7 separate regions of the Homo sapiens genome follow, and regions 1, 2, 3, 4, 5 and 7 are each linked to region 6. Evidence: promoter capture Hi-C in human tissues and cell types (Jung and others, 2019). All regions are on one chromosome and are shown on one strand. The core of a region is centred on a gene start or on the middle of the fragment in contact, and the rest is flanking DNA. Distances in the headings are between cores, read along the strand shown. Region 1 overlaps LINC01232 (long intergenic non-protein coding RNA 1232). Region 2 overlaps TM9SF2 (transmembrane 9 superfamily member 2). Region 3 has its middle 52 kb from the start of DOCK9-DT. Region 4 has its middle 29 kb from the start of LNCARGI. Region 5 has its middle 39 kb from the start of DOCK9. Region 6 holds the start of GPR18 (G protein-coupled receptor 18). Region 7 has its middle 7.0 kb from the start of LNCARGI.

Evidence for each region. Contacts are between HindIII fragments. The study calls those that stand out against the background at their distance.
Region 1: a contact is called between a fragment that was not itself captured here and the fragment with the promoter of GPR18 in region 6, in 3 of the 25 tissues and cell types used here (dorsolateral prefrontal cortex, lymphoblastoid cells and spleen).
Region 2: a fragment that was not itself captured here is called in contact with the fragment with the promoter of GPR18 in region 6 in 2 of the 25 tissues and cell types used here (lymphoblastoid cells and spleen).
Region 3: a contact is called between a fragment that was not itself captured here and the fragment with the promoter of GPR18 in region 6, in 2 of the 25 tissues and cell types used here (bladder and dorsolateral prefrontal cortex).
Region 4: a contact is called between a fragment that was not itself captured here and the fragment with the promoter of GPR18 in region 6, in 2 of the 25 tissues and cell types used here (lymphoblastoid cells and spleen).
Region 5: a fragment that was not itself captured here is called in contact with the fragment with the promoter of GPR18 in region 6 in 3 of the 25 tissues and cell types used here (dorsolateral prefrontal cortex, spleen and thymus).
Region 7: a contact is called between a fragment that was not itself captured here and the fragment with the promoter of GPR18 in region 6, in 8 of the 25 tissues and cell types used here (IMR-90 fibroblasts, heart right ventricle, liver and 5 more).

Annotation. Positions count from the first base shown.
Region 1 is chr13:99,489,594-99,492,339 of GRCh38, reverse strand. The region is part of intron 4 of LINC01232 (long intergenic non-protein coding RNA 1232); the gene reads left to right. Among named protein-coding and RNA genes, the nearest start is that of LINC01232, 8.3 kb to the left of the region's middle. The HindIII fragment of the contact is 8,464 bases long and covers 1-2,746 here.
Region 2 is chr13:99,505,838-99,509,004 of GRCh38, reverse strand. The region is part of intron 1 of TM9SF2 (transmembrane 9 superfamily member 2); the gene reads right to left. Among named protein-coding and RNA genes, the nearest start is that of TM9SF2, 5.9 kb to the right of the region's middle. The HindIII fragment of the contact is 3,611 bases long and covers 1-3,167 here.
Region 3 is chr13:99,032,873-99,036,077 of GRCh38, reverse strand. It overlaps a transcript of DOCK9 not described here. Among named protein-coding and RNA genes, the nearest start is that of DOCK9-DT, 52 kb to the left of the region's middle. The HindIII fragment of the contact is 7,887 bases long and covers 1-3,205 here.
Region 4 is chr13:99,459,750-99,462,937 of GRCh38, reverse strand. No RefSeq gene overlaps it. Among named protein-coding and RNA genes, the nearest start is that of LNCARGI, 29 kb to the right of the region's middle. The HindIII fragment of the contact is 7,653 bases long and covers 1-3,188 here.
Region 5 is chr13:99,015,755-99,018,624 of GRCh38, reverse strand. It overlaps a transcript of DOCK9 not described here. Among named protein-coding and RNA genes, the nearest start is that of DOCK9, 39 kb to the right of the region's middle. The HindIII fragment of the contact is 3,780 bases long and covers 1-2,870 here.
Region 6 is chr13:99,256,851-99,259,999 of GRCh38, reverse strand. It overlaps GPR18 (G protein-coupled receptor 18), which reads left to right and starts at 1,621. Exons shown (of 2, transcript NM_001098200.2): 1 at 1,621-1,846. All of the region lies in intron 4 of UBAC2 (UBA domain containing 2), which reads right to left. LOC124903198 (a long non-coding RNA gene) reads left to right here. Exons shown (of 3, transcript XR_007063846.1): 3 at 1,414-1,561. The HindIII fragment of the contact is 6,968 bases long and covers 1-1,634 here.
Region 7 is chr13:99,438,201-99,441,369 of GRCh38, reverse strand. No RefSeq gene overlaps it. Among named protein-coding and RNA genes, the nearest start is that of LNCARGI, 7.0 kb to the right of the region's middle. The HindIII fragment of the contact is 6,232 bases long and covers 1-3,169 here.

The DNA of each region.
Region 1 (2,746 bases), core at 238-2,737, 230 kb before region 6:
CAAGTGTTATGGGAATAGAATGGAAGCCACAAACGAGTTTTTATTTTATTTTATTTTATTTTATTTTACTTTAAGTTCTGGGATACATATGCAGAATGTGCAGGTTTGTTACATAGGTATACATGTGCCATGGTGGTTTGCTGCACCTATCGACCCATCATCTAGGTTTTAAGTCCCACATGGATTAGGTATTTGTCCTAATGCTCTTCCTCCCCTTGCCCCCAACCCCCCAACAGGCCTTGGTGTGTGATGTTCCCCTCCCTGTGTCCATGTGTTCTCATTGTTCACCTCCCACTTATTAGTGAGAACATGCGGTGTTTGGTTTTCTGTTCCTGTGTTAGTTTGCTGAGAATGATGGTTTCCAGCTTCATCCATGTTCCTGCAAAGGACATGAACTCATTCTTTTTTATGGTTGCGTAGTATTCCATGGTGTATATGTGCCATATTTTCTTTATCCCGTCTATCACTGATGGGCATTTGGGTTGGTTCCAAGTCTTTGCCATGGTAAATAGTGTTGCAGTAAACATACATGTGCATGTATCTTTATAATAGAATGATTTATAATCCTTTGGGTATATATCCAGTAATGGGATTGCTGGGTCAAATGGTATTTCTGGTTCTAGATCCCTGAGGAATCACCACACTGTCTTCCACAATGGTTGAACTAATTTACACTCCCACCAACAGTGTAAAAATGTTCCTACTTCTCCACAGCCTCACCAGCCTGTTTCCTGACTTTTTAATGATCACCATTCTAACTGGTGTGAGATGGTATCTCACTGTGATTTTGATTTGCATTTCTCTAACAACAAGTGATGAGCATTTTTTCATATGTTTGTTGGCTGCATAAATGTCTTCTTTTGAGAAGTGTCTGTTCATATCCTTTGCCTACTTTTTGATGGGGTTGACAAACAAGATTCATTACTCCTCCTTTGATTTGTCAATTTGAGAAACAACTCTTCCAACAGGATTTCCTAGTAGTACCAAGCTGCCCAATCCCCCTGTTGGGAAGAGATATTATGGTTAAAATGGAGGCACTACTACAATTTAAGCATCACCCATTGAAATTGCTGATAGTCAAAAATACAGTGTTCCAGACCACATTAATAAATAGGTTAACCCGCTGGCATTGGTATACTGGAAAACCAGGGAAGGCTAAAACAGCAGTGCCAGTCAAAATACATTTTAAAGACCTCAGCTAGTTTCCCAATTGAAAATAATATCCAATTAAGCAGGAAGCAAGAAAAGGCCTAGCACCCATAATTGAGGTATTACTTATTACATGGGCTCTTAAAATCCTGTAATTCCCCTTGCAATACCTGTTCTAAAGCCTTTGGGGGAATACCAGTTAGTATAGGACTGGAGAATACCGGTTAGTATAGGACCTGAGAATAATTAATGAGGCTGTTATCCCCGTCCACCCACTGGTGGCAGATCCATATACCCTTATGGCTCAGGTACAAGGGGATGCAAAATGGTTCTCAGTCCTGGACCTAAAAGATGCTTTCTTCTCCATCCCTCTGGCCCCAGAGTCCCAATACCTTTTTGCCTTTGAATGGGAAAATCAATATGAGGGAAAAACAGTAATATACCTGGACAGTGCACCCTTAGGGCATTCAGGATAGCCCCCATTGGATTGCCCGAGCCTTAGAGAGGGATCTGAAGGATCTGAAAGTGAAAAATGGGAATATACTCCAGTATGTGGATGACTTTCTTGTGTGTAGCCCAAACCCAGGAGGTTTCTGACCAAACTACTATAAAAACTTTGAATTTCCTGGCAGACAGGGGATACAAAGTGTCCGACAAGAAGGCACAGATTATCCTCCAATGGGTGCAATATTTAGGGTATGTCTTAACACCCAGAGCCTGACAAATATCCCCAGAACGAGAGCAAGCCATAGGTGGTTTGCCCCCTGCCCCCTCCCCAACCCCCCCACCTGCCACACCTAGTAGCAGCTTTGTTCTTTTTTGGGAATGGCCAGGTTTTGCAGAATATGGGTACCAAATTTCAGACTCATAGCAAAGCCCCTATATGAAGCAACAAAGGGGCCTGAAGACGAGCTAAAGGAATGAACCCCAGAATTGAGAAAAGCCTTTGCCAAGTTAAAACAGGCTCTCGCTCTTGGCATCCCAGACCTACCTAAGCCCTTCTCTTTGTACGTAGCAGAGAAGAAGGGCATAGCTGTGGGTGTACTAGCCCAGACATTAGGATCAGAACCCAGACTAACCACTGACTTTCCAAAGAAGTTGGATGGAGTGGCCTCGAGGTGACCAAGTTGCCTGCGGCCAACAGCAGCCACTGCTATGTTAGTGGAGGAAGCCACTGAAATCGCTCTGAGCCAACCACTGGAAGTTCTCACCCCCTCATCAGGTTAAGTCTGTCTTAGAGATAAAGGGACACATCTGGATGACAGGGGAAAGATGAACCAAATACCAGGCCATGTTCCTAGACAATCCAGATGTAACCCTTAAAACCTGCAACACTTTGAATCCAGCTTCAGTGCTGCCCACAGGCCCAATAACTGATCATTCCTGCAAGCAGGTCATTGCACATACACAATGTTAGCCAGCCTGCTTTAAAAGACAAGCCTCTCCCAGATTCTGAGGATGAGTGGTTCACAGATGGCAGTAGTTTTGTGTCAAATGGGGTTTGACACAGCACTGAGCTGGATATGCAGTAGTAATTATCGAAGCCCAGCCACTGCTCCTTGGCACATCAGCACAAAAGGCTGAAATCATTGCTCTT
Region 2 (3,167 bases), core at 435-2,934, 250 kb before region 6:
GCTGCAGTCAGTTAAGATTTTGGGAGACTATTAGGAAGGCATGATTGTATTTTGCAATATAAGAAGGACATGAGATTTGAGTATTTTTCCCCACTCAAATCTTATGTCAAGCTGTAATCCCTAATGCTGGAGGTAGGGCCTGGTGGGAGGTGACTAGATCATGGGGGTAGATGTCTAATGAATGGGTTGGCACCACTCCCTTGGTGCTGCCCTCATGATGGTGAGTGAGTCCTTGTGAGATCTGCTTGTTGTAAAGTGTGGCATCTCGCTCAACAGAAAACTCTTTCACTCCTGCTTTTACCATGTGACATGCCTGCTCCTGCTTCACCTTCTGCCATGAGTAAAAATTTCCTGAGGTTCCCACTAGAAGTCGAGCGATGTCCGTGCCATGCTTGTACAGCCTGCAGAACTGTGGGCCAATTAAACATCTTTTCTTTATAAATTACCCAGTCTCAGGTATTTCTTTACAGCAACACAAGAACAGCCTAATACAGCATATATTAAAAAAAAAATGACAGCACTTATTTATATGTTCTTGGAGTAGCTACTGAATCTCTGGGGTGTGTGTGTGTGTGTGTGTGTGTGTGTGTGTGTGTGTGTTTTGTTTGCCTTTTTTTTCCCACTCTAAACATCTTTATTCACCATCCAAAAGAGTTAAGTCCATCTCCTCCCAGAAATTTGCCTTAAATAGAGACAGATGACTCTAGATTATCACTGATGTGACTAGAAAGAACTTCAAGGTTTACTTGCTTCACATTCCCACTTTCAAACTGTCCCCACCTAGGTTATTTCAAGCATGCAAAATTTTGACAACATGAAACATTTTAAGGAAGTTGCAGAATCCTATGTCACTTAGAGAAAGCAAGACTGATTACAATCCTGTACTATGAAATGTTTTATAGAAGTGGTTTTATTTAGAACTCTACAGTCTTCCTTTTAAATTTCTCTCCTAAATGTACAATTTTATTTCTAGTCCTAATCTGCCAGTTCCATACCTGATCCCAGCTATGGTCACAACTAGTCTATTTTTTTGTTTTAACAAGGCACACGGGCCATGCCACAGGACTACACTTTTTCCCATTTCCTAGTTCGTTTCTGCTTTTATTCCCACCTTATTCTGCTATCATCACATCTGTCCCACCCCACACTTACAACTGGATTTTCAAGGGAGAAAGAAATTTCAGTGAAGAGATGTGACTGTACAAGGGTCATGGCAAATGACAAGTCACAAAAGGGTTTGAGATATGGAGGCCATAAAAAAGGAAATCTATGGAAGCTTCAACTCCTTAATATTAGAGCAGTCCACAGTGGCGCCTTCCTGAAGAAGGGAAGTCTTAACTCAGGCACAATAAAAGTCTCAAAAGCAATGCTGGGACTCACAAATGCTTATTTATGAGCTCTGAGTTATCCGATCAGCAATGCCCAGCAACTGATCTCCTAGATAATTACCAGGGTTCTTTCCCCAAAGCCCTGAAAAATACAATTTCAATTTTAGACTATATCAACGAAAGAAGTAAATATAAAACCTGACTACTTAAAAATTACACAGACACATCAAAGCTGCAATGAGTTATGACTGCACCACTGCACTCTAGCCTGGGTGACAGAGCAAGACTGTTTCTAAAAAATAAAATAAAATGAAAATTACATATAATAGATACAGAGTGTTTTCTGGAACTGTCAAAGTCCAGGGTGATAAGCGGTCAGGGATCCCCAGGGGAAAGGCAAACAAGAAGAAGAGTGCTCAGAGTAGAAGGCAGTGGCGAAGAGCCTAGGCTTTTTGGACTCAGTCTTGGGCTTGTTTGCATTCTGGCTTTAATACTTACTAGCTTTGTACACTTGAGACAGCTACTAAATCTTATTGAGCTTCTGTTTCCTCATCTAAATATCACAGAGATGTTATGAAATTTAGCTAAGGCATATACAACACACACAAATCGTAGTCTTTACCATTATTATTAGCAAAGGGCAATAAACAGGTTTGAAAAGTGAGAAGAGGAGCAAAAAGAGAAAAAATTCACAAATTTCCTCCAAAGCCTTTCATAGATAGTTAATTTTAATGAAAATAGAATGAAATTGTTGGATACATGTAAAGCAGCTAAAATTAACTACAAAACTTACTGAGAGACCATGGTGACAGGAAGCTACAGGAGAGAATAGGGAAGTAAGGGTTTGGGCAGCTGGGCTCTAAGGCTGACAGTGCACAGACCAATCTCTGTAGTGCCGATGTGTGTCTGTGTGTTTGTGTTGGGGGTGTGAGGTGTGGAACATATATCTGTGATTTGTTTCAGACGTTCCAGTTTACACCTTTGGAAGTTCAAGTTTACACCCACTTTGGTGAGGGGCCACAGGCAGAAAGACACAATTTTATTCATAGACTTTTGTTGCTTTCTTGATTCTAACTCTCAGATTCACTATAATGAACAATTACAGTCTTAATTTTACTTAAAAATCTAATTTCTGAAAGGCAAACTATCTCAGTTTAACATACCTTTTCAGAAGAAGAAGAAACAATTGCTGGAATGTATATTTACCATAGTCAAAGTAAGTCCTTCCAGTGCCAGATTTCAGATTTGAAAGAGCAACACCCAAACACTAATGAGTTCCCAGAAGCTAAGAATCAATGCTCTTATTCCAGAGAGAACTGTGAGAATGTGAAACTACATATCGATAAATATTTATCACTATACCAATAAATACACATACAGATTTTTTTTCTTTAAGTATTTCAAAATCTTCAAACTACTTCTATGGTCAAATTAAAACAGGTACATATATATTCATTCTGTGTCCGTTCAGATCAACATTCAGGACTATTTTCTTAAAGCTGACTCATTCCAATATTTATACACAACTGCTCCCAGAATAACAAACACAACTTATAAAATGCTTCTAAAAATAACTACCAAGAAAGGAAAGTATGACTGAGTAATTTTCCTTTTTATTAAAAAGTTGTTAAACTAATTCATTTAAACATTGTTTTTAACCACTAGGGGGTATAATTGGTCATTTTTCCTTACAGCAAAGGAAAAAAAATCTTAATCTTTCATCTAAGAACGTGATCTATCCATCAAACAGTAAAAAAGTGGCAGACATTTTGGAGAATTAATACTATTTTTAGTTCTTAGTTCTGAATTCTGGTTGACAACCCAGTAATTACTTGAAAG
Region 3 (3,205 bases), core at 371-2,870, 220 kb after region 6:
GCTTAAAAGTCCAAAATTGCGAGGCTAGGGTAGGCAGGCAGGCAGGCTTGGAAGGCTGACAAGCTGGAGACCCAGAGAAGAGCTGATGTTGCAATTGGAGTTCAAAGTGAGTCTGTTGTCCGAATTTCTTCTTCCACAGGAAAGGTCGGTCCTTTTCTTAAGGTCTTCAACTGCTTGGATGAGGCCCTCCCAGATTATGGAGGGCAATCTGTTTTACTCAGTCTATTGATTTAATGTTAATCTCATCTAAAAATTACCTTCGCAGAAGTATCCACATGTATTTGACCAAATATCTGGGTACTGTGGCCTAGCCAAGTTGACACATAAAAGAAAGCATCACAGTTAGGATATACTTTAACAAAGATCAAAAAACAATGCCTTATAAAGGATGGAAGTTAGGTTTACTCTTAGTCCAAGTGTAAACAGTTCAGGGTTGATTGATGACTCTACCATTTTGGGGTCCCAGGCTCCTTCTATCTTGTTGCTCTGCCATTTTCCACATAGTACTTCCTTGTAGCAGAAAAGGGAGATGGTATGGGAATGGTGTACTCCTTCCCATTTAAGTGCATGACTTTAAAATTGCACGTATCACTTAACACGTCCCATTAGCTTTAACTTTAACCATCCCATTAACTGGAACCCAATCCAGTAGACACACTTCAGTGCAAGAGAGACTGAGAAATGTAGTTTTTGGCTGGGTAGCCAGAGGCCCACCAGCACTGCTATTACTATATCAAAAGGGAAGGATAGATGTTGGGGTGAGGGAGGTATTCATCAGTCTCTGATAGTGTTCATTCATGTTTTGTGTTGCATTACATTTGATTGGAGTTCAGAATGTTTACTAATATTAAATCTGCTCATTCAAATTTGAGAGATTGAGAGTTGTGACACAACTTAAGTTTCATAATTAATGTTATTGAATTTGATCTTTCTTCTGCATCTTAAAGCACGTGTCTTGAGCAAACCTGCACATGAAAGTTGACATACCAAATGGGAAGCTGAGACAGAAGACAGAAACACAGATTCAGAAACCCACCTTGTTAAGACTGTTCCACTTCATTCTTTAGGAAGTAGGTGACTGTGAAAGTTTTGGAGCAGTGTTAGAATATGACAGATTGGGGTAATGGGAAGATAATCCGGTGGTTCCACATTGATTGCTGGATGACATCCAAATGCATCCATATGGCTTACAAGGAACTGCCTGTCTGTTTCACCTCAACTCCTGGCATCCACCTTTACTGCCTGTGTTCTGGCCACACCGAATCACAGTTCCTTCACTGTTCCTTATTATTACGCATCTCTATGTCTTCTAACAACTCTGCTCACCATTTTTGTTACCTTTTTAAAATAGAAATTTGAAGATTAAGGAAAACAGATAAAGGGCCCTTAAATTGGAGCCTACTCAGGTCCACCTATCTGTCTCTGCTGTTCGTTGAGTGCTGCGGTGTTTCAGGAATGTGTTAGGTGCATTCTTTTTGTCACCTCTCCATCCTCATGGCACCCCTGAGGGGTGTGCCATTATCCATGTTTTGCAGATGAGGAGCTGAGGCAGAAGTTTAATGATTGACTCAAGGTTACAACAGTCAGAAACTGACAGAACCAGGAATTTTGGCTGACTTCTGAGCCTGGGTTTTTCCCACCACATATTGTTCTCTTTGGAAAGAAGGTCTTAGGCTTAAGATGATTAGTAAACACAGTATATCAAGGGGCTGTGGAATCTCTGGGAGCTTCAGCTTCAGTTTGGAGTTACACCTCTTGGGTGTGCTACTGGAGAGCTGTTACCTCAGTGACTTGTGATGTGACCTGCTTTGCCGACTCTGTACTTATGTTGGGGGAAACTGGGGAAATGAGGGAGGAAGCAAATTTGGAATATGGTTTTAACCAGTTGGAATGAATTCATCCTTGACTCCTGAAAGCTTGTAATCTTCATAATCTCTTTTCTAGTGTTGCTATTTTGGATATGAGGTATGGGATAGCAGATGAATGCTTTAGGGTTGTGTGAGCTGAACAGTATTAAAAATGTGCTTTTCTCTCATCCTGAGGATCTTCCATTAATCCACTAGATGGAGCAGCTGGTTTGAATATATTTCATGATTAGAAGTTGGAAGAAAAGACATGGTGTTCATATCAGAGCCATGTCACAGACCCCCTGAAGTTGGCCAGGCATTTTGATCTCTATTTTTTCCTCTCTAAATATAAAACTTTTATTTACTCAGCACATCTATATGTAGGGAGCATTTGAGGTTCTTCTGGGACCTGACAGAAAACCATCATGGTAGAGTAGAAAGAATTCTAATCTGAAGTCTGGGGATGTGAGAGTAGAAGTCCTAGTTCAGACACTTTAGTTCTCTGTGACTTTGGTCTTTAACCGTCTTTAAGCCTCAGTGTCCTCACTTTTATCACTGTTGCAATAGGTGAGATGTGAGATGTGCCTTCTACAGGTTAGGTATATTGGGCCTCTGTGCCATCCCTTTAGACCACCTGCGCGATCAAAGATGCACGAGCTTCCATTTTGCCTGACTTGAAACTGCACTCGCTGACAGTGTCTACAACATGGAAAATCCATCCCACTGAAGACTGGAGGGTTTGTTGACGGCATTAGTTCATTTGCCTTTGTGATACTTCCGTCACCCACGGGCATTCCCGCTCATGCATGAACCCCTCCTTGGGGCAGTAGTTTCATTCCCTCACAAATGGTTTATCCTATTTTAGGGCAACACTGGTTATTAGAGTTTTTACTTATTGGTCCTGGTTGATCCTTCCAGAGCAGCCCATATCTTGTAATCTTATCTGTCTTTCATATTCAGATTTTCTGTTTTAGAACTAAGGTGGAATATTTGTTTTTTGCCTTCTCTACTACTGGTCCTGCCTGAATGATATGCTATATAAGAAATTAGACATGTTATCAAAATGCTTTTTAGTTTTTAGTTCTCAACTGATAGATAGGAAGGTGGCTATGTATGTTTAAATCTGCTACCTGTACTCAGATGTCTTAAAACATCATATGTCCTAGAATTTTAAGGTTTCATAACAAGGAACTATTCTTTAACAGTTGTTGACACATTTGTTCCTAAAAGCCAATGATGTCTTACTTAGACTACTGGAATCTGCTCCTAAGTGTTTAATGAAGTGAAATTAAAACTTCCATTTTTAGGTAGCTTTGAACTATGGGAATGTGTAACCTCACTACTCCTGATTTCTGTTA
Region 4 (3,188 bases), core at 679-3,178, 200 kb before region 6:
AAGAGCTGTAACACTCACCGCGAAGGTCTGCAGCTTCACTCCTGAAGCCAGCGAGACCACGAACCCACCAGAAGGAAGAAACTCCGAACACATCTGAACATCAGAAGGAACAAACTCTGGACACGCTGCCTTTAAGAACTGTAACACTCACCACGAGGGTCCGTGGCTTCGTTCTTGAAGTCAGTGAGACCAAGAACCCATCAATTCTGGACACGGCATGATCTCAGCTCACTGCAACCTCTGCTTCCTGGGCTCAAGCAATTCCCCTGCCCCAGCCTCCTGAGTAGCTAGGATTACAGGTGTGTGCCACCATGCCCAGCTAATTTTTGTATTTTTAGTAGAGACGGGGGTTTCACCATGTTGGTCAGGCTGGTCTCGAACTCCTGACCTCATGATCTGCCCACCTCGGCCTCCCAAAGCGCTGGGATTACAGGCATAAGCCACCTTTCACTACATATTCTGAAAGCTTAAACACCTGAGAGAACTCAGAAAGAAAACGCACATGGATTGAGAACAGCATTAAGTTCTTTCCCAATAAGTTATTTCCCAATTTATCTGCATTTGTCTGAGTAAAGAAATACATTTCTAGTTGCAAAGTGAAATTATAAGCAGGTTCTTTCCCTTCAAAATGATTTTTCATCCTTCCAAGAGCCAGTGGGAAAATATGGGAAGAATTCATTTCCAAACAAGGCAGTTAAAGGTTACAACTTCTAACCATCAGGAGCCAAAGCCTGCTCATGCATGCTGATGGTGGACAGGGATTCAGGGGTCCTCAGGGAACTCATGTCCCCCCTCCTCTGGTCAGTGGAGGATCATTGCATTGACCAGCGAACCTCAGCAGTTTCAATGTAGCAATGCAGATGTCCATGGGCTGTGCTGCTGAGATGGCCTTTGGGTCTTCCCTCTTATGAGAGGGCTGAGTGTGGCCCTTATCCTTCTAAAGAGAGGTCTACAAAGCAGCGGGGCTGGGGTTACAAATTCATAGAGAATAGGCAGACAACTATGGGCTGGAGATGTCCAGGAAAAAATATCCACTGGCCATTTAAAATACTAAGCCAGGAGCCAATCACATATTTATATTAAAAATAGCAAGCTGCCCAAATCCAAATGATTTATTGCAATCAAGTTGCAACAGCAGACTTCCTACCTGGAGATATCAAATACTTAGTGGGTTATTTAAGTAACCAAAGCAAAAAAGTCTCATTACAAACAGGTATTTATTATGTGGACAAAGGGGTATTGTCCTTGCACTCTCTTATTAAAATACTCTTCAGTGAAATAGTTATCATTAATCCCATATCATAGATGAATAAACTGAGGTTCAGTAAGTTAAGAAGTTTACTCAGTTGTTTTAAACATTTGTCAAATCAGATGACTCCCTTCTCTGAAATAGGCCTATTTTTTTTCTCTCTCTCTCATGGAAAGATTTAAATTACACATAAATTGGGAGAATATACAAGAACTCTCCACGTACCCATCACGCAGGCATAACAAGCATCAAGTCATGGGTCTCTCTCTGTCACCCAGGCTGGAGTGTAGTGGCGTGATCATGGCTCATTGTAGCTTTGACCTCCTGGGCTCAAGCAAGACTCTTGCATCAGTATCCCAAATAGCTGAGACTACAGGCACATGCCACCATGCCCAGCTAAGTTTTGTAATTTTTGTAGAGACAGGGTTTTTTCATGTTCCCAGGCTGGTCTCAAACTTCTGGGCTCAAGCAATTCTCCCACTGTATTAGTCCATTTTCATACTGCTATAAAGAACTGCCCGAGACTGGGGAATGTATAAAGGAAAGAGCTTTAATTGACTCACAGTTCAGCATGGCTGGGGAGGCCTCAGGAAACTTACAATCATGACAGAAGGTGAAGGGGAAGCAGGCACCTTTTTCACAAGGCAGCAGGAAGGAGAAGTGCTGAGCGAAGGGGAAACAGCCCTCTAAAATGCCCTCAGATCTTGTGAGAACTCACTCCCTATCACGAGAACAGCATGGGGGAACAGCCTCTTGCATGAGGCAGAGCAAGACCGCATCTCCTAAAAACTGGAGGGCATGGGGAGGGACTGATTTCTCTTTGCCAACCTAGGCCCTTACAATTGGCCATGGGACTTCCAGTCATAATTCTAAGTGAGGGTTTCAAGCACATTTAATGAGCACTTTCTTATTTATTCTTTAACAGAAACATTAAAACTGCAAAGGAAGAATAATGTTTAGATGGAGAAGTTTCTCCCAAAATTTGCCAAATATTATCCAGTGTCTTTTCTTACTGCAGTATGTATAACTTATCTTCTGAAAAAGAAGATGTATTACTGTGACTTAATACCAACACAACAGACACAGTTTGTTCATCCTATTTGTTCTTCACCAGAAAGGAAAGAACATTACCCATATTTAATTTATAAGCTGGAGGAACATCTGACCAAGGCCATTTCAGAACATAAATTTCTCTCAGCAAGCATAAGCGGAAATTCAGGCCCACCAGTTTTTGTATCAGTTTGCTGTAATAACAAATGGCTCTGGTAGCAGAGGAAAACTTTTTCCTCTATTCTTTCATGTTCCATGCCTGAGGCCTGTGAATTAAACTGACAAAGACAGATTAAAAAGAGGAAAACGTGAGAGTTTATTTATGCATGTAATTCATATACACACAGAAGTCAGTACGTAACTCTGATTTCGGTGAGTGACTAACTCAAAGGAGTGGATAGACAGGCTTACATACCACCTTAGAAGGGAATGAGTAGGAAAAGAAAGGCACTTATGTGAAAACAACGACTTTTCAGAGAGGTAAATGGGGCTGGGTGTGGTGGCTCACTCCTGTAATCCCAGCATTTTGGAAGGCTGAGATGGGAGGATCGTTTGAGCCCAGGAGTTCAAGACCAGCCTGGGTAAGACAGTGAAATCCCATCTTTACAAAAAATACAAAAATTAGCCAGGCATGGCGGCACGTTTCTGTGGTCCCAGCTACTTGGGAGGCTGAGGTGGGAGAATTGCTTGAGCCTGGGAGGTTGAGGCTGCAGTGAGCTGTGATCACGCCACTGCACTCAGCCTGGGCAACAGAGCAAGACCCTGTCTCAAAAAAAAAAAAAAAAAGATAAATGGGTTTTGAGGAGAACAAACAGGAGATAAGGAAGTTTGTGATAATGTTTTTCTATACAGTTATGAGTGATATGCCTCCTCTTTCATGTCTCCTTCA
Region 5 (2,870 bases), core at 67-2,566, 240 kb after region 6:
TTTCTGAATACTTCACTCTAAATATTTTCTGTTGCTTTTCAAGAGCCCACTAATTTTGTTGGTTGGAAAATGACTAATACTTAAAATTTGGCACAAGTTGCTTCAATGTGTATATGTCTTGGTCCATTTTCTGCTGCTATAACAGAATACCACAAACAGGGTAATTTGTAATGAACAGAAATTTATTCGTCCCACTATTCTAGAGTCTGGAAGATGTAAGAGCATGGCAGCAGCAGCTGGTAAGGGTCTTCATACCACATCATCCTGTGGTGGAAGGTGAAAGGTGGAAGGAAAAGAGAACATGCAAGAGTGAGAGAGAGAAAGGGGACTGACCTCATTCTTTTATTAGAAACCCACTCTTGAGAACACCATTAATCAGTGAGGCTCTGCCCTAATCACTACTGGAAGGTCCCACTTCCCAGCACTGTCCATTGAAGATTAAGTTTCTAACTCATGAACTTTGGGGGACACATTCAAACTGTAACATTTTATTAATTTATCTCCAGAAAACATTGCTTTTTCCTTTGAATGAGTTAGGAAATTGTTTCATTCTCTCTTATTGTTTTTTTAAAATTTAGCTTTTACTTTTATTTATCTTTTTTAGCTTTATTGAGATATGATTGGCAAAATTGTATAAATTTAAGGTATACAATATGATGATATATGTTGTGAAATGATTACCACAATTGAGTTAGCTAACACACCTATTACCTCACTTAGTTACCTTTTTTCTTTATTTTTTTGTGGTGAGACCATTTAGACCAAGCTTGTCCTACCCGCAGCCCTCAGGCCACATGTGGCCCAGGCTGGCTTTGAATGTGGCCCAACAAAAATTCGTAAACTTTCTTAAAACATTATGAGATTTTTTGTGATTTTTTTTAAAGCTCATCAGCTATCATTAGTGTTAGTATATTTTATGTGTGGCCCGAGACAATTATTCTTCTTCCAGTGTGGTCCAGGGAAGTCAAAAGATTGGACACTCCTGATTTAGACTCTTGTTTTAAACACGAATGGAGGGTTCTAAAAGTAAATCAAACAGCATATACCAGCAGCTTCCAATTTGCTTGGTTATTTCTAATTCTCGGTAAAGTTCAAACGTAATCTTTTGTATCTCAAATAATATTCCCTGGCTTCTGCAGGCAGGATGTCTAAAATATGTCATAACAATAACAAATTAATTTTACATTTCCAGGTACTCTCTTTATTTCTGTTGAATGAACTATTGCTTTTAAAGCTATTTCTCTTGCTGTATAGGAGTCAGGTTAATTGGTAGATTTTCTGAATTCTCAAAACTGACATTTAACTTATGTGTTTAGTGTTTTATAGTCTCCAATATTCAGTTTCTGGGTAGGTGAGTTTCTAGTTGTTTATCTGTCAGCATTGTGATTTCGCATGAAGATTCTCCTAGTGTCACAACTTGGGTGTAATCTTGAACCCTATAGCTCTGTTTTCACAGAATCACCCTTTGGAAGTGGAATGCTCTAGACCCCAGAGGGTCATCCTGTTTTTTGCATGTGGCCAACATCTCCCCATCTTTGATCTTGTACAGCTATCAGACACACTTTGCATAAAAATACAGGAGAGAGAATAAGCCTAGATTTTTGGTTTTCTGTGGGGCCCAATGGCTAAACTACTCATAGAAAACAGACATTATGGGATCACGTGCCCGGATGGTATTCCCTACAGGTATGATTTTACTACATGCGTGGGTTTACACAGCCCCCAGGTACTCAGTCAGTTAATTCACTCTAACTTTCACATCTATAGAGAGAAATGAAATTATCTGTTGCCTTGTGAAATAAGGAATAATATCAGAGCAGATTTTAAAAGATTGATCACTTTTTTCCTAGTTACATATTGTGGCTGGGAAAAGTTTTCCTGTATGTGCAGCATGGTCTTTTTATATAGTTAGCCTTTCATTGTTGAAGAAGGAAAATGGCAAGAGTCAACTTGGTATCATATCATTGACAAGCTTCCCTGTTAGCCATTCCCAGAGATTCACGTGAGGTAGTGTAGTGTCACTGAGTTCAGTCTACAGTAGAAGGAGTTGGATTACTTACACACCAAACATAATCATGCTGACTGTGAGACCTCAGCATGTATTTCCCATTGCATACTGGAGTGCTGCTTCAGAAGGCATGCATCTAGCCAGACTGGGTAGCCCTTTATTCATGTTCTCATTTGCATCTTTGGGTACCAGAGACGGGAGAATCCTTTTAAGCAGTGCAATCTTGCTAGCCCTCTCTAGCAAAGAGTAGAGGTGGGCTGAAGTCAAGATCGACACAGCAATGTTGTGTTCCCTTGTGGTTTGCTGTCAGCAAGCTGTTATCCATACGTGCAAAAGATTGTTTGAAGTGGGCTTGCATGTGTTTCCATAGCAGCAGTCATCTTAGAGATTTCACTCGTTTTTTGGACTTTTTTTTTTCCTTTGCTTCTCTGTTTCCCGCTGATGCAGGATTAAATAAACAGCATATTTAGGTCAAGGAAAGAGATGTTTGCTAATATAGATGCTAGGCTAAGCATTCTGGGAGAGCGATTTCTTGCAGCAGATGAACATTCTTTGTGCCTCCCAGCAGCATCTGCAGCAGTGTGGCTGTCTGGCACTGTCTTTTTCATTTTGGGCAGGTTCTGAGATTCAGAACAATCCCAAGCAAATCACAGGAGCCGGCAGTTTTCCAGTAGAGCCACATGTAAATCTCCTGCTTATTTGTTCTTTGGTATTAAGAGTGAAGCAATCAGCTAGAAAAACGATACTTTAAAGGTTTGGTGCATCCGAGGTGTGTCATCTTGTGTTTGCACCACCCCTCCTGTTTTACACTCGGAGTCTGGATTTTTTGTCAGGCTGTTGAGCAGGAGCGGATTCTAGTACG
Region 6 (3,149 bases), core at 372-2,871:
ATGAGGAAAAAGTGAGAGCTCACCCCAACCTGAAGCCAGGCCTATGGAGAGCCCTCAGGTGCTCCTGGATGCCTCCTCTAAGAGTCTGGCAATTCAGAAACAAGAATGCCCCTGTGCACCGTGAAGAATTCAAGTCTTGATGAAAGGACTCTTCTAGACACATGCCATCAATGTATCTGTTGATTTTAGCAGCAATGGGGAAGCTAATCAATACTTAATTTTAGAAAAGTCCTAAGCTATGTGAATAAGGCAAAGGACAGATTAGGTCTGCATGCAGGCAGATTTCTGTCCAGCTGAAACATCAAACTCCTGTGTGATGAATGAAATATAACATCACATATAAAAAACTGATGAATGTGATTCAGCCATAAGAAGTCCTATCTAGTGGACAGATCAATATAATTACCTCATAAGAAGTTATTACAGCGGGAGAAACTGGACCTGGCTTTACCTTGAGTTCTTAAGCAAGTAACTGGCCTTCAATTTCTTCATCCACACAAGAAATAGTTGCTATGGTTGTCTCCAACACTTCTAAAACCCATCATTCTGGCAGGTTGTAACAATCAAAAGTATTTTATCACCAAAGGCAAGGATTTAAGTAACTTTTCTAAGCCACAGATTTACTATGGTTTTGTCTGAGAAAAAAAAAAAAAAGGATGGACCCCAAACTGTCTAAAATTCAAAAAAACAAATACATTTAAGTTCATGAACCCTTTAAAAAGTTGACAAACCATGCATAACCAAACATAAAGATAATTAAAATTTTAGGATAAGCAAATGAGAGATAATTTTTTTTAAGAAATGAGAAAGTAAAACAAAATTAACCTAACAAGGCAGGCAGCGATTCGTTGCTCACTTCCCTTTCTGCTGGTTTCATTTCCCTTCTTAGGTGAAAACACTCTTAATATGTAAATCAGTCCACTAAAGACTTCAGAGTCCTTTCTGCTAAGATTTGCAGAAATTTTTATGCAAAAGAAATTATTTCTAGACTTCCACGCACTAGAAAAGCAGACTTACAAAATACAGCAAACTAAAGTGGATAAATGTATGTGGCAAAGCAGAAGCAATTAATCAAGGATCCTACTTTTAAGCATTTAGAAATGTTTAAATAGTAAAAAGTGGAAATGTGGATATTCTATGATTTTTAATAACTTGGTAGTAAAAAGTGAGACTCCATTTAGGAGTACCTACTAAGTGCCAGGTACTATTAAGCACTTGGGATCTTTCTGGTTTAGGGCCCCTACAATCCTACTGGATATAGTATTATCTCTATTTCAACTGTACAGAAATGAAGTAGGAACAAAGGGTTAGTCAGAGTGGGTAGGTAACTAGACAAAGTCACATAGCTTATAAAGCAAAGAAGCTAGACTTTAAACCCCCTTTTACTCAATATCAAATCTTCTCTTTCCATAGATGATGCAGACTTCAAGCATCAAAGTACACAAACTGAAGAAACTTTATCCTTTGTATATAATTATCTTAAATATATGCCATCATTTCAAGGGGAGCTTATGCTAAGTGTGACTTCATAAACAAATCATTTGTGAAAGAGAAAAACCACATCCAGGGTAAAGTCATAAGGTGAAAAAGCCTATTTCAGAGAGCACTTCCTGAAAGAGACAAAGCAGCAATTAAAGTCAGCCCAGCACCAACTCCGACGCCAAGCGTTACACTGGAAACTACTTTTTAAAGCAACAAAAGAGTCTAAAACAAAATACAACATTTCTTAAATACACTGTTTCCAGAAAGAGCTATTTTAACAGAAGCAACTCAAAGATATCCCTTCGACAGAAGTGGAAGTGCTGAAAAATGCTCATCTCTCACACAGACTTTTGATGGACAGGAGGTAAGCAGCATTTAATTAACTTCATGATTATTGTCAAAAGTAATGCTTTATGTACTGCATTTCAAAAATCATTTCATTTTAATAATACAGGCTGGGCGCAATGGCCCACGCCTGTAACTCCAACACTTTGGGAGGCCAAGGCAGGAGGATCAGTTGTGCCCAGGAGCACCATAGTGAGACCCCGTCTCTATTAAAAAAATATATTTAATTAAAAAAATAAACATAACAAACTATGTTGGTGAAAGACCTTGAAATAGGCTATATAATCATCTTTCCACATTAATATGATTTTACATTTATTTTCAATATTGCTTTACATTAATACTAAATGTAATTTTTTTCAACTTAAGGAAAGAAAATGTTTATGGTAAATCATATGTATATTTAGGAATGTTCATCACATGTTTTCAATTACATTGTTTCATGAAATAACTTAATGGTTTTTAAGAAAAGAAAAGCTACAGATAATCATGGTATCTATAGCTTTTAAAAAGCTGACTTTAAAGTCAATCACTTTTCAATATTTATCCAAAAATTTCTGTGTTTGCAGAGCACAATCAATACTATAATGCCTTTAAAACACATGCATCACTCATTTTTTTTCAAACGTCAGCAAATGAATATAAGTATTGGTGACAAGCTACATAAAAACAGCTTGAGCATAACGTGGGAAAAAAGACTCAAGATGGTTTGTAAGTACAGGACTTATGTCACAAAATTGAAGGATGAGGATAGGTGAAGGGAGTCCTGATGCAATACTAAAAAAAGAAAAACAAATACAAAATTTCATTTATATTATAATTGCTACTATTTAATAAGAATGCATTCCAGTTAAAAATAAGATTTAAGCCTCCAAGATTACTCTCCTTTGAATGACACTAGAGATATAATTTTTCTCTGTAGCACTTTCCTCATTTGATAGAAATTAATATTCTAGTCACACCAATATTTGGAAAATTTAATATGTTTTTAAATATATAGAATTATGCTCCTAAATCATATTTAACCTAAATATTTGAGAAGGAAAGAAGGAGAAGAAGGGAAGAAAGGGAAGGGAAGGGAAGGGAAAGGAAGGAAGGCAGACAGGCACGTTTCTTGTGTTTAACCACAGCAATTGCTCAAGTTAATTCTTAATTATCAATAGCCCGTGATGCCACTGACCACAGACAGCAAATCTCCCCCATAGTTTTCCTTAAAGAGAAATTCTGGGCTGATTTCAAGACAGCCCACTCTGCAAAGTGACATTTTTGAAGGAAACTTTTCATCCACCTCCATATTACAAGGGGATGCCACAGATTCCATC
Region 7 (3,169 bases), core at 230-2,729, 180 kb before region 6:
ATCTCAGAGAACGCAAGTTAAGCACCACAAAAAGATTTAACTCATGCAAAAATGAAACTTGGGAAAGTGTACCACATTTAAAATCAATGGATTGATCTAATCTCCAGAAATAAATAAGAAAACGACCTTGCATAATCAATTATGCTATTACAATTAACTATACACAAAATGAGAGAAGAAACATTTTAAATGCTTAAACATTGTGTAATTTCTACTTCATTCTACAAATATTCCAGCAAAGGCTTAATTTCCCTAGTAGATAAGGAGCTCTAGATACAAACCAATAAGAAAAAAAGAACAACAACAAAATGGTCAAAGGAAATGACCTACCTACTCACAGATACAAGGTACAAAAGGGTCTTAAACATATAAAGAGATGTGCAATCTTACTCATAAGAAAAGTACAAATTAAAATTATACTCATGTCATTTTTATCTATTAGATTGGCAAAGATTAAAACATTTGATAATATACTCTGTTGGCAACTCTTATTTCTTGCAGGGGGAGGGTGTAAATTGGTATAACCTCTTTGGCAGTCATTCTGGCAATATTTATCAAAATTGCAAATACACATACCTTTTGAAACCTTTTGAAAATCCACTTCTTTTTGTTGCAGATACCCTTGCATGAATGAATATTATTTTGAAAAGGTAATTAATTGCTCTTTGGCTTGCAAAAGGCTGGAAACAAAATGTCCACATAGCACAGCTATACAGTGAAACAATAGGCAACTGTAAAAGAAAAAAAGAATAAAGGAATTCCTTTAAAACACTACTGTAGGTGGGGGAAAAATATGTTCCTTCTACCCTTCTAGGTTCTCAGCTGGGGCCCTTGTAACAAAAGACAGATGAACAAGAGAAAAGAATACAAATTTATTTAAATGTTACCTGACATGGGAGCCTTCATAAGGAAATAGGGACCTGAAGAAATGCTTAAACCTGAGTGTTTCTAGCCTTGATTTGATAGAATGCTGAGTCATAGAAAAATGTGGTAGGACAGAAAAGGTATGAGCTAAGAGTAGTAAACTGGGGGAAAGTTAGCAAGGTCTGTGCATTCAGATTGTTCCTGGGGTCCCCCTGTCTCCCTCTCACATGAGGGTCTCCTGACCTGCTTCAGGGGAAAGTCAGGGAACCCTTTCTCTACTTACCAGTTCTCAAATTCCTTCAGCTTAAAATATTCACTATGCCAAGGTACATGTTTTGGGGTAGCATCCTGAATGCCCCTCCCTCCTACGGAATGATTTCTAAGCTATCAAGAATGAAAAAAGCAGCGGTGCGTGCACGTTTTTGCTCATAGATGCAGAAGATATCCTGCGAGGATACACGTGATGCTGGTGACACTGGTTGCCACTACCAAGACCTGGGGGAGGGGCGTGCATCCTTCTGCACCTTCCGAATTTTGGACGACATCAATGCATAACCATATGCAGTAAGCTGATCACAATTTGGTAGTACTTTTGAATTACGAATGCTGTTACTAGCTTGTCTTTGATACATTTATCCATTCAGCCAGTGGTTACGTAGCCAGCACAGAACAGGGGTCGATCCAGCACCATCACGGAAGGGCTGCTCTGGTCCGAAGTCTTCAGAGCTTCCGGTGTCCCAGAGTGGAGAATCTCGCACCATAAACCCTCCTCTGTCTAATATTCACTGACTTTCAACAGCAGTGTGTTACGATGCTATGAAAGTCTGTCTTTCTGCCCCTCGTGTCTTCAAATCCCCACTTCCCATAAGCAGGGGACTAAGAAACTAAGGGGTTGCCAGTGTAAAGAAGCGCTACCCTGTAGCACTGTAGAAGGACGGTGGGCACTGGGAGCCACTGATGTCCCCGATACGATGGAGCACGGGCAGATTTGCCCTTTGGGGACAAGATTTGACGACCAGGCAGGCACCTGCTGCAATTATTCCAGTAACGTCAAAGGTGAGTGAAAAGCAAACCCGTGTAGAAGAAGCTGTAGCAGCTGTCAATCCCAGGTTATCTTAATTATGCCTCCCTGGACAGAACTGGTAAGTGGTAACTGGCTCTCTCCTGCAGAAATGAATCAAGCCAGTGCCACACTTGAGTAGGTGCACTTGAGTAGGAACATTTGCGCAGTCCTTCACATTGCAGAGACTTGCTTGCATGGTTATCATGCCAGTTCTGCTGTTTTGGCCAAAGGTGCACAGTTCTGTCCCACTTTGTCCTGTCAAAAGCCTCTTGTCCTCGTGCTGTCAGCCTCACCTCTGATTCCAGCCCTGGGGAGGGTGAACAGCTCCAACAAGTCTCAGCTCAAGCGAGCGCAGCTTGTCTGTTGCGTCCCACACGTGGTAGGCTGAAAAATGGCTCCCCAAAGGTAAGTCCACATCATAGTCCATGGATCCTGTAAATGTGGCCTTATTTCGGGAAAAGGTCTTTGCAGATGTGACTAAGGACCTTTGGATGAGGAGAGCGTCCCGTCTTATTGCCAGATAAGCCCTGGATGTCATCACAAGAGTTGTTTTAAGAGAGAGGCAGAGGAAGATGTGAGGACACACAGAGGAGAAGGTGATGTGAAGATGAGGTAGAGGTCAGAGTGACAAGCCCACGTGGCCACAAGCTTAGCTGGAGGAGGTCAGGAAGGATCCTCCCCTAGAGCCCTTGGAAGAGGGCAACAAGTATCTGCAATAAATATGGGAATGCAGGTATCTTTTCAAGATACTGATTTTGTTGTCCTTGGATATATACCTAGTAGTGAGATTGCCAGATCATATCCATTCTATTTTTCATTTTTTGGGAACCTCCATACTGCTTTCCATTATGGCTGTACAAATTTACGTTTCCACCAAGAGTGTGCAAGGGTTCCCTTTTTGTCCACATCCTCACCAACACATCTTTCATCTCTTTGGTAATAGCCTTTCTAACAGGTGTGAGGTGGTGCTCCCTGTGGCTTTAATTTGCATTGCTCTAATGATTAGTGATGTTGAACAATTTTTCATAGACCTGTTGGCCATTTGTATGCTTTCTTTTGATAAATGTTTATTCAGGTCCTTGGCCCATTTTTCAAATCATATTATTTCTTTTCTTACTATTGAGTTGTTTGGGTTCCGAATATATTTTGGATGTTAACCCCTTATCAGATGCATGGGTTTACAATATTTTTTCCTATTCTGTAGGCTATCTCTTCTCTCTGTTGTTTCCTTTCCTCCACAGA